Linked DNA regions of Homo sapiens: region 2 is linked to region 1. Evidence: promoter capture Hi-C in 16 types of primary human blood cells and fetal thymus (Javierre and others, 2016). All regions are on one chromosome and are shown on one strand. Each heading gives the region's core, a stretch centred on a gene start or on the middle of the fragment in contact. The rest is flanking DNA. Distances are from core to core; before and after follow the strand shown.

Region 1 (7,899 bases), core at 2,396-4,895:
TAATTTCACCACTAAACCATGAGGCAAGGTAACAATTTACTTTCCTCTAGACTCTCACTAACTTTTCTCTAGATTCTCACTGACTGCTCCAGGGCATAGGAAAAGGGCTCAGAGCACAGTGGAAATTTTCAAAGTGTCTTCTACAGGGTTTTGAGGACGGGGTTTCTGGTCTCTCTCTATATAGGGGTAGGTTACACTCCTGCAAGTGATCCTCTAACTAATTTTCCATTCAGTGCTTGTTTGTTGGGCACCTTCTATGTGGGAGACCCCCCCAGGAGGAGATGGAGATAAATGCACAAGGCCCCATGCTGGGAGCTGATGGCAGATAGGCCTGATGACAGTCACTGCTGAGGGCTGCCGAGAGAGCCAAGAACAGTGCCAGGCACGCTTCCCCCCTCATCTCACCATGGCCCTGCAGGCTGCATGTCTGTGATCCTGTCTCAGTTGGCAAGTGGGGAAGCTGAGGACTGGGGAGGCAGAGTGGCGCCTTGGCTTCCCAGAGACTTCCCAGGTCCACACTTCCACTCGGCACACTCTGTCCCAGAGTGAAGACAACACATGGGTCAGCACGGAACAGAGGGTGCCCTGAGCTGCAGGAGGAAGTGACGGGATGGCACTCGGAGGAGGCAGCACTTGTGCCAAGTGAGATTACATCACTTCCCAATTCAAATATGCTACTGTTGGTAAAACTTACACCCAGAGGAGATGCGGCCAACTAGACATTAACAGATCCGCATTTCAGAAGTAGCTTTCATCATCACCCCGCAGTAATGAACAAGCTGAGTCAAAAGAACTGAGCGACTCTGATGTCACGAAAAGACTGTCTTGGGAGGAAAGCACTGGACAAGCAGATGTATGCAACGTGGGGACAAATATTACTGATTTGGCGGAACACAACAGAGTTAATGTCGATTTGAAAAACTTGTTTATCCAGTGATTATGTGATTAATGAACACCAAAAGGCTCATTGCATCAAACTGAAATTGGAAATGGCTGGTATATTTCCAGATTTGGTTGTAGTTACTACTACAGTACAAAAAGTAAATCAATGTAAACTATTTCCTGGGGAAAACAATGTGTAATACACAGGCTAATAGGCTTGGGTGTTCTTAAACCCCCCTCTCTTAATCCCTGAAAAAAAAGAGCCACGAGAAATCATTATTTCAAGGTTGGCCTGAGAAGTGTTTTCTGTTTTTTTGTTTTTTTAAAAAACCAAAAACTAAAGGTAAAAATCCTTGTCTTCTCAAACAAGAAATCGGTGCTTTCCTGGCTTTCCCGGCCCCGCGGACCCTTCCTGCTGGTGCAAACGCCTCTCTCTGTAGTCCTCCTCCCTCAGCAAGGGCTCACCTCCTGTCCTTTGCACATGTGAATTGCAGCTCCTCCTGCCTCTCAGCTCCCCTCTCCGGCCCTCCCGCCTGCCGTTTTCCCAGCCTGATGCCCCCAGCTCCAGACTCGCCTCCCCGCAGGCTGCCAGCCTGCAGCTCTTCCCTGTAATAGCACTGGGCATCCTCCTGACCTCCTGCAGCAGTCGGGAAAGAGCAGAGCAGAGAACGCGAGGGAACCTTAGGAAGGATATCACCTAGTCCTTGTTTTATAAATGAGCAAACTGGGGCTCAGAGAGGTTCAGAGTTTCATCCAAGGTCACGTAAGGAAATCCAGCTGCAGCCCTGGGTGGTGGCTGCAATCGAAGGGCTTGGAAGCCTGGCGGCCTGCACATCACCACAGCTCCAGCCCACCTCAGGTGCTGGGTGTTCTAGAAGTTACCTAACTGCACCTTGCCAGTTTCCTCACCTGTACACTGAGGCAATGATCGCATCTATCATGGCAAGCTGTGGGAGGTTAAAACAGAACAGACACACCATGCTTCAGGCGTGCTGGAGTTGTCTAGTCTGTCCACTGGTGCTGTTTCCTCTACCCCACCTCCCTCAGATTCTCCCATTTCATCGTCACTGTGGGGAAAGGAGACAGGATGAGCCCAGCGAAAGCAGACGGAAAGCCCAGGCCTGCAGATGGGCAGGCTGGCCAAGAACACACCCCTGGGACCAGCCCTCTGATTATTTCTCTAGATGAGTCAACCTACAAGCACGGAGGTTAAGTGGCTGCCCGTGGCCACGGCCACACACACCCAGTGGCAGAGACAAAAGGGGGTTGGAGGGAGAGGACCCAATCGCACGACTTCAACATTAGGCCTGGCCCTGAGTGACAGCTCTGGAGTGAGCTGTCTGCATCGGTCAGGGTTCTCCAGAGAAACAGAACCAACAGGATATATAGAGATGTATTGCGAGGCATTGACCCACACGATACGGAGTCGAAGCAGTCCCACCATTTGCTGTGTGAGTGCTGGGGGCCCACGTGGTGGCGTTCTAGTCCAAACTCGAAGGCCTGAGAACTGGGAGAACCAATGTTATGAGTCCTGGTCCAAGTCTGAAGGCCAGAGACCCAGGAGTTGTGATGTCCCAGCTCAAGGGGAGAGAGCGAATTCACCTTCCTCTGCTTGCTTGTTGTTTGCAGGCCCTCAGTGGATTGGATGGTGCCTGCCTGCACTGGGGAGCGCCATCTTCTTACTCAGCCCCATAATTAGATGCTAATCCCTCCCAGAGACACCCCACATGGGAGAGTAGCCTGTGGTTCTGAACCCTGCAACTGCTAGGGATGCAGGGAGGGAGTCACAGGGTGGGGGTCACAGGGCTGGCCACGGTCCTCTACTGTCCCTGGCCCCAGGTCCCTGGACTTCAAAGCTGTTGTGCTCCTGGCTCAACGGCTATAGTGCCCATGCTGGTGAGGTTCCAGGTGTGTGTGCGAGTGTGCACGCACACATGCTTTTAGTGTTACCATCTTCTCTCCCCATCCAGAGTCAACAGAGTGCCTGAGTGCCATGTGGCCTTACTATGCTACCCTGGGGGAAACGGAGAGAGAACTGCCGAGCCCACACAGGGCAGGAGCACTGTCCCTCTCCATGGTGGAAGACGCAGGCTCTAGCGGTCCAATGCCTCGCCCAGGTCCAACAGCCGGGCGGCCCAGGGAAAGCACTGATGCTGCTCATGCCCTCCCCACGCCCTTCAACATGGGGCTGCCCAGACCCCACAGCACCCTCGAGGGCCAGGGCAGCTAAAGCTCTGACCAGGGAAGGGTGTTCTCTGCCCTCCCACACATCCTGGGGGCCCAGAAAGGCAAGGATTTGGAGCCCCAATAGCGGCCAGAGGACAAAATGCTCACACATCCAAGCAGCCTGCCCTCCCACCCTTTACAACACCCGCAACCCGTGGCCTCCGTGGTCTCCTCCAGCACACAGGCTGGAAAACAGGAGGAACCAGGGGAGGTCACCTCCCCTCCTAAACCTGCCTCCAGCCCTGTGAACAGGGGCGGGGGTGACAATTCAGTGGCTCAGTGAGAGGATCCAGGTGGGAACCCAGTGAACACAGGGCCTCCCAAAGGAGGAGTGAGGGGCTCTCTCCGCAAACAAAGGGCCCCTGGCCACCCCAACACATAAACACACACACACACACACACACAGCCAACTACACACACAGGAACCAGAAATACTTCTTTATTCAAGCCCAAACGTGCAGCAGCCGCCTCCCAACCACAGCAGGCTCCTCCTTCCCTCCAGCCCCAGTTTCACCCCGCACAACCCATGTTCTCCCCACAACGCTCCTCAGATAGGGCACTCCCCCAGCAGGGGTACAGCTTGGCTCCGGGACCTCGGTCCCGCCGAGGCTGGCTTCAGTTTCTGAATTTGCCCACCAGTGGCTTCGAGGGCCAAGCCCCCAGGCCCTGCTGGTCCAGGAGGAGAGACAGCTGCCTGCGAGCCTCCTGGTAGGGCCCAGCCTAGGGCGGGAGATGAGAGGTGGGGTGAGAGGAGGTACCTGCAGGGGGCAGGGACTGCAGGGCTGGAGAGGGACCGGGACGGGGGGAGGGTGGGGAACCAACCTTGGCAGCCTCGTAGGTCTTCAAGGCCAGGAGGTAGGGCTTCCCCACAGCCCTGGCCGCCTGGTGAAAGGCCCGGAGAAAGGAGGCCTTGCAGAGACGGGAGGGAGGCCCCAGGGCGGCACTGGATGAAGAGAGGATACCACTGAGATCAGAGAGATACAAGCTGGACCAGCAGGCCTGCTACACACCTCACACTACCTCCTCTCACACTGTGACAATGTCACAGGACTCACAGGGCAGACAGAGGTGTGGCCACCACTACGGAGCTAGGAAGGGGTTGAGCGAAGGGGTTGAGCGAAGGGGTTGCGCTGGGATTAGACTGAGGTGAGGAAGCTCATGCATGAGCCCTCCATCACCAGCACTGCTCCACAGCCCGGCCCCAGGGGGCCCTTCTCACTTGGCCTTCACACGCCCGGTGGCCACATCCACAACCTCGATGCCAGGGTCCCCCAGGCTCCAGTTGAGGCTCAGGCCACGGCAGGTGTCAGGGGTGGGTTCGGAAGGGGCCACCGGGGGCCCTGCAAACAGGTGCAGGGCGGTCCGGACGTAGGGAGGTGGCAGGCATGGCCCCAGGACACTGTCCAGGCAGGGCCGGGTGTGGATGGCCCTGCTCAGAGTCGGAGGGTCGTGGCATGAGTCAGCTGCAGGGCAGAAGGGACAGGACAAGGTGAGTGACCTCCCTGCCCTCCCTTCTCACCCCCCCAGCCCTCACCACGTGCTCACCCAGGATGAGGCTGGTGCTGTAGAGTGGGGACACCAGGTGGGCCAGCAGGGCACCACCCAGCCCCAGCACGGCCCAGCGTGCCAGCTTGTCACTGGCTGACAGGCAGCCCACGTGGGTGTCACAGAGCGAGGGCGCCACGTAGCACACAGGCTTCAGCTGCCCGAGCACATGGGCCTGCAGGCGCATGGGTGGGCTGTGCGGGAGGCCACCTTCCGAGGTGGGGGGCAGGCTGCGGGCCGGGTGGGGACAGACATCAGCTTCAGGGCTGCTCTTCTGACCCTGGCCCCCACCCAGCAGCCCAACCGAGGGAGCCCCATCCCCCGCCTGCCCCGGGGGCCCTGCATACTAGATGTCACGGGCCGCGCCCTTGGGGGTGTTGCTGATGTAGAGGTGCAGGAAGACGCGGGGCTTGAGGGTGAATGGGGGTCCGGGCCCTGGCTGGGGGGCCAGCACGGACTGCTCCTTGCCCTTGGGGCCCCCCTGTGTGGCCAGCAGGAGCTGCCGGAACAAGAACCTAGGAGCGACAGGCACAGGGTGGTTGGGAAGACCTTGTCCTGGCGAAGGCTGCTATCAGGCGCCCACCCCACTGCCCCTCACCTCAGCAGGGCCCTGCGGGCGATGACCAGGCCATGGCAGTCGTGGAGCTGCTGGCCCGAGAACTCCAGCCAGCCAGCACAGCAGCTGCTGCCGGTGCCCAGAGCCACCAGCTTGTAGATCTCCTTCACGTGGCCCCTGGCACGCGGGATCTCTGTGCAGGAGGGGGCAGAGACGGCCCAGCCTAAGGCAAGGAGCTTGAGGGGGCCCTTCCCAGGGGGCCGGGGCCAGGGCCAGGGCTGGGGCGATCCCTACCCCTCTCCAGGATGACTCCAGCCACAGTCCCCTTACAGGCCCAGTATGGCGAGCGCTCGTCCAACAGGAGGTCAAAGCCGGCGCTCACCAACGCTGCGCAGCGCTGCTCATGGGTCAGGATGTTCTCTGCGCCAGGGCGAGAGACTGCAGGTAGAAGGGGGCCCACGCCTCTCCCCTCGACACTACAAGCCTGGGTCCGGGAATGCTCACCTACCTACGCTCAGGGGGGCCAGTGGAGGCCGGCTGGAGGTCTGGGGGGACTCTGAAAGAGGCAAGGAGGGCGGGCTGGTGTGGGTGCCAAGGCCCACCCTCCGTCCCTCAGGAAGCCAAGGAGGCGGGGAGAGGAAGTTTTCATCTTCCAGACACAGGACATTACACGAGCTGCTCTTCTAGCGGTCCCTACCCCCGGTGTCCCCAGAGGACGTGAAAGCAGGGACCGGCACATGTACCCCGCCCCAGCTCCCTGCAGGTGACGTCCTGATGCTCAGATGGTTTGTACAGCAACCCACCTCCTGCTCACACGCACAGCCACTTCCGCCTCCCCACGGGACTGCCAGCCTCAGTCCTCTTGTCCCCAGCTGCGGCTCAGCTGCCTGGCCCTCCCTCCATTACCTGGGTTCTCCAGCTGACTCCGGATGTAGCAGAGGGCAGAGAGCGCTGCCTGCTGTTTGGCCTCCGTCTTGCTATTCGCAGTGCCCGCAGGGCAGACCACCCCATCCAGTTCCGCGCTCACCGAGAAGGGGAAGCAGGGACCTGGGGAAGGAGCCAGGTGAGGAAGCAGCCCCCTGGCCTTCGCCCTGTGACAGGTACCACCTCTGCCTCCTCCTGACACCTGATATCGAGGACGGTCAGAATAATGAGACCCTCACCACCCTTCCCTTCCTCCAGCAGGCTCCATCGCCACCCCATGCCGCGCACACCCTTGAGTGCCTCTGCAGGCTGTGACCCATCGCTGATTCAACCAAGTCCTCACCCAACTCCTCCACAGCAGGGATGCGTGACTCCATTTCACAGATGAGCAGAAACGGCAGGCGGTTTGCCCAACTTGAGTCAGGACCCAAATCCAGGTCCCCTCTCCAGAGCCCACGCCACCCTGTTCTCAGGAGGAAGGCTCTGAGCACTTCCACCTGCCACAGACACATTGCTTTCAATTCCTCTCCTCCAGGGGCTCTATATTTGAACACTTTTCCTATGAAACAGTATCATTTTGGGTGTTACTTATAACACAAAAGAGAGATGAAAAATCTGGAACTGGGATCACATGGTCAAAGGTGCAGGGTTAATTTCACAGTACTTGCTGCTAAATTGTTTCTCCCAAGGACTGCCCCTCTGGGGGTTTCCCTTTTGGAAGGGAACCCATTTCAGCACTCCCCACTGCGCTGAGATCTGTCTGCTCTAAACAGGCATCAAAACCAGCAACCACAGACAGACGTGGAAGGGATGTTGGCCTTAGAAAGCCAGCATGTGGCTGCCATCCTAACAGCGACTGAATCTGGGGAGAACCATCAAAGCATGATTTTCTAAAACCACAAGTGACAATGTTATAGGGACAGGATATCTACATGATCTCCAAATGCCTCCCCTGGATGACTTATTCAGCACAAAGGAGAAAGTGAAGACACCTGGTAGATGCCACCCTAGTCAAATCCCCACAGCTCGCATCGCCAGGGGACAAAGCAAGATCGCACACTTCCTGGTGAGATGCGTGCCAAAGACTCGACATCACTTCAATAACACATCACCTGAACTCAGTTCTGAGGAAACAGACAAACCCAAGCTGAAGGACATTCGCAAAACTACTGGCCCTTACTCTTCAAAGACATCAATGTTGTGAAAGACAAAGACAGGAACTGTTTCAGGTAAGAGATTAAAGAGGCATGACAGCTAACTGTAATGTCATACTGGGATGGGAAACAATGGCCATGAGGTCATTACTGGGACAACTGGCAAAATTTGAATGTGAATAGAAATTAGAAGATGGTATTATATCAATGTTAAATTTCCAGGATTTGATAATTGTATTGTAGTTACATAAGAGATGCCCTTGTTTTTAAGAAATATAGATGAGGCCGGGCACAGTGGCTCACTCCTGTAATCCCAGCACTTTGTGGGGCTGAGGACAGGAACTCAAGACCAGCATGGCCAACACGGTGAAACCCCATCTCTATTAAAACACAAAAAAATTAGCTGGGCACGGGGGCACAAGTCTGTCATTCCAGCTACTCGGGAGGCTGAGGCGCAAGAATCGTTTGAATTCGAAAGGCAAAGGTTGCAGTGAGTTGAGATCTCACCACTGCACTCCAGCCTGGGCCACAGAGCGAGACTCTGTCTCAAAGGAAAAAAAAAAAGAGGGCTGGGCAAGGTGGCTCTAACCTATAATCCCAGCACTTTGGGAG
Region 2 (7,899 bases), core at 3,158-5,657, 98 kb before region 1:
TCAAGCAATTCTCCTACCTCAGCCTCCCGAGTAGCTGGGATTACAGGCATGCGCCACCATGCCCGGCTAATTTTTTTTGTATTTTTAGTACAGACGGGGTTTCTCCATGTTGGTCAGGCTGGTTTTGAACTCCCGACCTCAGGAGATCTGCCTGCCTTGGCCTCCCAAAGTGCTGGGATTACAGGCATGAGCCACTGTGAGCCACTGTGCCCGGCCTGGAATGGGTTTTTAAATCTGTCCGTAGTGCACATGTAGGGAATGCAGTTCTGTGCCAGTCAGGGAACTGTGGGCTCTATGGTCTTTTTACTGAGCCCTGCAAAGCAGGCACTACTGTGTCCCGTGCTGCAGATGAGGAAACCGAGGCTCAGATAGGAGAAGGAAACTCCTGAAGGTCTTAGAGATAGAAGGCGGGAGACCCGGCACTTCTCATTAGAAGCTTCTCCTAAGGGCCTCCCACGGGAATGGAAGGCAAGCGTGCTCATCTCTGGCACTGTCTCTGCATGCTTAGACCAAGAAGCATAAACAGCACTCAGGACATTAACCGGCCCCACTCTAAGAGACCAGTCCGCTACACAAAACTCACTCTGCCGGGGGACGAGGCTTTGAGAGACTAGAGCAGGCTACAGGCAGCCCTGCGCTTGGTCAGGACTGAACCACCAGCTCTCCTCATGTAGCCCTGGCCAATTTCCAAGGTGTAAATACTCCCAGCATGGTTGATTTCAGGCAACCCACGTGAGGCCACTGAATGGGAGTGGGAAGAGATGTGGAGTAGCTTCTCTCCTGGTCATACCACACGGATGCAAAAGACATAAAACCCCAGGAGCCAAGAGAATAGCAAAACGGAGCAATACAATTGGAAAGTGATGCATTTCTAACAAGAAGTATTTCCTGGCTGGGTGCGGTGGCTCACACCTATAATCCCAGCACTTTGGGAGGCCGAGGCGGGCGGATCACCTGAGCTCAGGAGTTTGAGACCAGCAAAACCCCATCTCTACTAAAAATACAAAAAATTAGCCAGGCGTGGTGGTACATGCCTGTAATCCCAACTACTCAGGAGGCCTAGGCACAAGAATCACTTGAGCCGGGGAGGTGGAGGTTGTAGTGAACCAAGATCACACCACGGGACTCTGTCTTAAAAAAAAAAAATTCTTTCCTTTCTTTTTAATACAAATGATTTAACTGTAAGTTTATATAACTTAGTTTGTGATCATGGCTGTGTGGAACAAAACTGGCTCTCCAGAGGGGGTGCAAGCCAGTTCAGCACACAGCCAGCATCTCCTCACTCTGACGAGCCCATAGCCCTTGAGGGTCAGGGCCAAGGCTGAAGGTCTCACTCAGCGTAGGGTGAGGGAGTGGTGCCTCACGGGGAAGTCTCGACTTTGTGCATGTGGGGGCTGCTTCCTATCATCCGTAAGTCCCTGTCGAACGAAAGGGCCATGAAAGTCATAGGTTCTCCATCTTCATTTCCCAGGTGAGGACTGAGGACCAGAGAAGGGCAGCGAGTGGTCCAAGATTGCACAGCACATTAGAGATTTCACTGTGATAAGTTCCAGGCCAGGTGCTCTTCCCAGCCCTCCCTGTCCTCTGAGCCACAGGCGAACAGCCTGTCTTCGCCCAGGGCTTTCTCTGAGGCACAGTTTTTTTTTTTTTTTTTTTTTTTTTTTTTTGAGACAGAGTTTCACTCTTGTTGCCCAGGCTGGAGTGCAATGGCACAATCTCGGCTCACTATAACCTCCACCTCCCGGGTTCAAGCAATTCTTCCACCTCAGCCTTCTGAGTAGCTGGGATTACAGGCATTTGCCGCCACACCCAGCTAATTTTGTATTTTTAGTAGAGATGGGGTTTCACCATGTTGGTCAGGCTGGTCTTGAACTCCTGACCTCAGGTGATCCACCCGCCTCGGCCTCCCAAAGTGCTGGGATTACAGGCATGAGCCACCGTGCCTGGCTGGCACAGTTGTTCTGCATAAACCTCACCTATGTCTAGGCGCTGAGGAAGGAGGCCAATATCTGTTGATAACCAGGGAAAGTTTCAATTCAGCGAGGAGCCAATTCAAAGCACTTGCATCCTGACCAGTGGTGGCTACAAGTGAATCAGCTCCTGCAGCCCACCCAGGCCTGTGTTTTAGAGACTCCCCCAAATCCCCCGCGCATATCAACCCTGACCCTCCTATGTGGATGTCACAGTGCTGGCTCCTATGACATCTTGGGACATGGTGGAGATAAAATCAGATGACATATTGGCAATCTCTCTATGGTTGTAGAACCAAAGTGCTACTAACTACAGTTGAGGGTTAAATCATCCTGTTGCACCAGAGAAGAGCATGGAGGAGTCAATAAAATCTGAGAAGAGTCTCTCACCCCTCCTCAATGCCTCCCCTCTGGCCAGGTCTGGTCTCCCAAGCAGCTCTTAGATGCACCACTTCTGCCTGTGAGCCTCGGCTCATGCTGAGCCTTCTTCCAGGAATTTCCTTCCTCCTCCTAATTCCTAATCCTTCCCCAAGATCCAGTCAAGGTCTCCACCTCCTCCAGGAAGCCTTAGGTGACTACACCATCTCACATGAGCTTTCCCTTCTCCAAGCGCCTCATCATGTCACTCTACTACTCTTTCCACTTCTCGAAGTCCTCCTGTCTCCCGCCACGAGCATGTGCCGAACATGGAGAATATGAGCCCTGGAGGCCCAGATTTGTCTCAATACAGTTTCAGGCACCCCACTATGCCTGGGGTCATTAATCATTCTCCCTTCCCTCTTCTCCAGCTGGCAAACTCCTATTTATCCTTTAAAGCCACAGGTCCACTGTCCCCAACCCTAAAAACCCTGTCTGACTCTCCTGGGGAAGAGCTGCACACGCATCCCGTGCTACCACTGCAGCCGCTCATAATTCACCCACAAGAATGTACCAGGCGTCAACTTAATGGCAGGCACCAGGGGCACACATTAGTGAAACAGAACCCTGCCCTACCCCAAGGAACCTACATGCTACCCTGTTAGGCAACACCAAACAAAGTCACAATTATTTGATTGAAAGCTGCCAAGATGCACTGCCAGCTTGCTATGTTGCAAAGACGTTCTACATACTGAGACATTCAATCCTCACACAGGTGCTGTGGGTGCCAGCATTACCTTCTTGAGCCCTCTGTGTGCTGATATCGTCCTGGCTCACTCCGTCCCTGCGGATCTGTGATCTCTGGGGGGTGGGAGGAACCAAAAATGATAGCCTCCTCCACCCCATTCTCTCTCCTAGTTCCCTTCCTGCTTTATTGCTTCCTCAGCACTTGCAATCTGCACATACTAATAAATGAGATCTCTCTCATTTATTCTTTGCTGCCCCCAGCCCCCCATTGAGTTCCCCAGGCAGAGATGTGAGGCCTGTATCCCCACAGCCTAGGACAGTACCTGGTAAACAGTGGCGACCCAGACATAGTTGTGTGAAGAAATGCATCCCTCTGTCTTTTGCAGATGAGATTGCTGGGGTTCAGAGACGTCAAGCAGCTTGCCTGAGAGAAGCCACGCAGCTAATGAGCAGCAGAGCCCGATTCACACCCAGACATCTGGCCCCAGGGCATGTGTTTCTTGCCACTCACTGCCTCATGCCTTCTCTTTGTACTGCCATCGTTTGTCACCCAACTGCCTCTGCACCTCGGCCACGCCACCCTTGAGGATGGGGGCTGGTACCTCCTTTATCTTGTATCCACAGGACCCCACAGAGTGCCTTCCCCAGAGCGGTTTCTGCTAAATTCTGTTTAACAGAGTGTATTCATTCTGTTTGCTGAATGAATAAACAACCACATGAATGCATAAGTGTATTTCACAAACATTTGGTACTGATCAGGGAGACGGAATGCTCCGTTTAAATCCTGGGGTTCCGAAATGAGATGCTGTCTTTCAGGAGCAAGCATACTTTTGTAACAAGGCAAAAGTAAGGCACGATTCTTTGGCACATTTGTGATGTGTCTTTTGCCTCTTGATTCACAGATAAGGGTCCTTTTTTGGGGGTGAGCCCCATCTGCCCACCACACAACTCAGACACACACGGATAGGAAGACGCCTGCCTTGCCACGTTTTGGGGGAGCACTTACAGGAGAAGGCAGTGTCTAGGGATCGCCTCTCCTCAAGGCTGACTCCCACCCACACAGGCTGCCCCAGCCTCCCCATCCCAGGCACTTACACGGGATTTCTCGGCCAGCCTCGCAGGCAATGCCCGTTTCCAGATATTCTTGGCAGAGCCGGCGTGGAGGAGAAGTAGCAAGAGGCACAGAGCCCGGATGATCTGCCTCCTGCAGCTGCCCGGCCCCACGCCGGTTAAAGGCATTTCCTCCCTGGGCAGCGACCTTCCAGACGCACACAGAAGAGGGGCCCCCCTCGCTGCGTGGGCCTGTGAGTGGGGACAGGAGCGTGCACAGTCTGCTGGACTTTCTTAGTTCCACCCAGCAGGGTCCCTCGGATCATGTGTCCGCGTCCAGCACATGCCCCTTCCTCGATGGTGGCTGGCCTGCCCGGTTATTTTTAGCTTGCCCTATAACATCTGGCCCCAGACGCTCCAACCAGGGCGTCTGCAGCCCAGGCAGCTCAGTGGGCGGTGGCAGCAGGAGGAGGGGGCACCGGCTTGCTTGGAGACGTGGCCGGGAGTGGCCTGTCACTCTCCACTCTCCATAATGAGCACTTCCTTGCAGGCTGGGGCGGTCTCCTCCCAAGGAGGTGTGCTTGACACAGGGCTCGGGGCTGGACATGCAGGGGAGTGCAGCCGGATGGGTGGGGGCTCGGCTGCTACCTTGTTCACATTTCGAGCTGGGCTGACAAACTATCTGCCTATAAAAGCTTCTTTGAAAGAGGCTGCTGGACTGGCACTGGCCAAGGGTGCAGCCATGAAGAGACGACTTCCACCCTTGCACCCGCCGGGGTCCTCCTGCCTGATGTGGGCATGTGGGTAGTTCCTCATAGCGTGTGTTTCCTGTGAGATTTAAAAGAAATTGAGCACATAAAGCATTTCACACACATAAGTGTGCTGTCACTGTCAGCCGGTGTATCTGCACATGTGCATTTATGTGTATGCGTGTGTGCACGTGGGTGTGCATGTGCACGTGTGTGTTTTACAGGAATGTAGCACAGCGGGCTCAACATTTCACAAACTTCATATTCCCTTGTCTGTTCTCAGCACTTCCAAGACAGATACTGGTTTTTTGTTTTGTTTTGTTTTTCGAGACGGGTCTTGCTCTGTCACCCACGCTGGAGTGCAGTGGTGTGATCACAGATCACTACAACCTCTGCCTCCCGGGTTCAAGCGATTCTCCTGTCTCGGCCTTCCAAGTAGCTGGGATAACAGGCATGTGCCACCATGCCTGGCTAATTTTTGTATTTTTAGTGGAGACTGGGTTTCACCATGCTGGCCAGGCTGGTCTCAAACTCCTGACCTTAAGTGATCTGCCCGCCTCAGCCTCCCAAAGTGCTGGTATTACAGGTGTGTGAGCCACCACACCCGGCCCCAAAACAGACACTGTTTTGATGCCCGCTTTACAGATGAGGAAACAGAGGGGGCTGCCTGAGGTCATGCAACAGCAGCAGAGAGGAGGCTGGAACCCAGGTAGGTCAGACCCTGTGGCACCCCCCTAGGCGAAGCAGAAGGGACCCAAGCACTAGGCTTGACGCACCTGCCTGATCCCAGTTCAGCCTCTGCGAGATGCTGGAAAGCCTCTTGCTCATGGTCCTCAGTTCTCTCATCTGTGAAATGGGCATGTGAAAGTCTCTGCCTCTTGAGATCGATGTGGGGCTACAGGAGAGGGTGCCAGCTGTGCCCAGCACTTGCACAGAGTGAGTGCTCCAGAAAGATTGGTTCCTCCCTCCCTGGGGACCCTCACCCCCCACCTCCTGGCCAGCACAGCCTTCAGAATGCCCTGGGCAGGTATCATCAACCCCTCTTGGCCTTTTAGTGAATGACAATAGTGGCAAACACATATAGTCTGTGTAGGTCGGGTACGGTGGCTCACACTTGTAATCCTAGCACTTAGGGAGGCAGAGGATGCCTTGAGCCCAGGAGTTCAAGACCAGTCTGGGCAACATAGTGAGACCTCATCTCTACAAAAAATACAAAATAAAAAAAGTAGCCCGGCGTGCTGATGCACACCTGTAGTCCCAGCTAATTGGGAGACTGAGATGGGAGGATCACCTAAGCGTGGGAGGTTGAGGCTGCAGTGAGCTGTGATGGCGCCACTGTACTCCAGCCTGGGTCACAGAGCAAGACCCTGTATCAAAAAAAAAAAACCTTAAAAGCCATACAGTCTGTGTGTTCGGCAATGTTTGAAGCACTTCCTGCATTTTAATGCTTTTAGGTCTCATATTAGCCTTATAAGCAGGTGCTGTCTAGGATCCCATGCACAGAGAGGTTAAGACACTTGCCCAGTGAGCAATGCAAAATTTAAGTTCACCATCAGAGTCCTGTAAACCCAGGAGCCCAAGCGTGAGAGTCTTTTTACATTTTAGACCCTAGATGCCTCCTTTGCCTCCCGCTAGGCCCAGCCCTGATCATTACCTTGCCCTAGATTCTAGAATATTCCTTCATTTCTTCATCCAGAAACTACTGGCTGAGCCCTTATGGGGGCATGGTCCAGCGTGCTCCACTCCCTCTTCTTTCAGCTTTATGGGACGCAGTCTCAATGCCCCTCCCTGCAGGGCAAGGCTGCTTATTTAGAAGCCAGGAGCCACCCACGGACATGATGGAGCTGCTACCCCTACTTACCAGGACGACCTGGAACAGGTCCTGCCCCATCTCTCTGCCTCTGTTTTCTCATCTGTAAAACAGGGGTATGGAGTCAGAACTTACTCGCAGGTTTGCCATGAGGCCCAGCTGCACTTAGGCGAGGATCTAGGCTCAGCACATGCTTGCTGTTAGGAGATGAGCGTTCTGAGGCACCGCCTCCTGGGCCTCCTCCACCCGCACCCTGTTCTCCAGGCAGAGCGGAACCTTGGCCCAGGTTCCATTTGAGAAACTTCCTGCTGCTTGGAACCTGGGGCCCTGCGCTCTCCTAAGGCAGCTAACGCCTCCCATGTGGTTCTTGCTCATCCTCCATCTCCACCTTCCCCTTAAAATGTAGGCGTTTCCCATTGATGTTACAGTCTTGGCCCATTTCCTGCCTCTCTCTCTCTCTCCCTGGGTGGCCTCACTTCTGCCAACAGTATGACTCCCCTCCCTCTGGGTAGACGAGGTTCCAAATGCCCTCTCTCAGCCTCCTTGCTGGGCAAGGCGCCAGCCCTGTGCCCCTGCAGCGCCCTCCACCTGGAATGCTTTTCCACCCAGCTGCGGCACTCCTCACCCATCACCTCCTCCAGACTTTTGTTCACGTGTCAGTTTCTTGCTGTGGTCCTCTCTGACCCCAGGATTGAAAACCACCATTTGCATACCACTGGGACTCACGGTGCCCCTCTTGGTTTTATGCTTCTTCGTACTCATCTCCACCTGACATATTCTGTATTTTACTAACTTTGCTTTCTTCGTTTATCGTCTATGTCTCCACACTAGGATGTCAGCTCCACGGGGGCAGCTTCTGGGGATCTGTTTGTTCACTTTGGAATCGCCGATCCCTAAGCAGTGCCTGGTGCAAAGTAGACACTCAGTAAAGACGGTGTAATGAATGAGTTGTGCTTAACACATTTCATCTACCAGCTCGATGGCTCGACGTGGCTGTCGCTCTCTACCCATGCTTCCCTGTGAAACATGGCTGGTCTGAAATGAGATCTGTCATAAGGATAAAATGCAGACCCGATTTGGAAAACCTGTGAGTGCATGTGTCTTTATGACAGTAATGAATTACTGTCCTTTGCATATATTCCCAGTCGTGGGATTGCTGGGTTGAATGGTAATTCTACTTTAAGTTCTTTGAGAAACCTCCAAACTGCATTCCACA

What was found. The method cuts DNA at HindIII sites, captures the fragments that hold promoters and counts their contacts. A CHiCAGO score of 5 or more calls a contact.
Region 2: a contact is called between the fragment with the promoter of WFDC1 here and the fragment with the promoter of ADAD2-AS1 in region 1, in 1 of 17 cell types (endothelial precursors). The highest score is 5.3, in endothelial precursors.

The regions. Positions count from the first base shown.
Region 1 is chr16:84,192,799-84,200,697 of GRCh38, reverse strand. ADAD2-AS1 (ADAD2 antisense RNA 1) reads left to right here and starts at 3,645. Exons shown (of 5, transcript NR_147175.1): 1 at 3,645-3,816; 2 at 5,257-5,437; 3 at 5,542-5,653; 4 at 5,973-6,309; 5 at 6,392-7,899. It overlaps ADAD2 (adenosine deaminase domain containing 2), which reads right to left. Exons shown (of 10, transcript NM_001145400.2): 2 at 6,116-6,256; 3 at 5,718-5,765; 4 at 5,504-5,629; 5 at 5,252-5,402; 6 at 5,001-5,168; 7 at 4,654-4,883; 8 at 4,328-4,571; 9 at 3,931-4,051; 10 at 3,532-3,828. The coding sequence ends at 3,724. RefSeq lists enhancers at 4,415-5,037, 5,193-6,392. The HindIII fragment of the contact is 32,016 bases long and covers 1-7,899 here.
Region 2 is chr16:84,291,386-84,299,284 of GRCh38, reverse strand. WFDC1 (WAP four-disulfide core domain 1) reads right to left here and starts at 4,407. Exons shown (of 7, transcript NM_021197.4): 1 at 4,170-4,407. The coding sequence starts at 4,313. LOC124903734 reads right to left here. Exons shown (of 6, transcript XM_047435022.1): 3 at 7,309-7,587; 4 at 6,735-6,786; 5 at 5,650-5,768; 6 at 4,447-4,952. The coding sequence starts at 7,312. The coding sequence ends at 4,447. The HindIII fragment of the contact is 4,383 bases long and covers 439-4,821 here.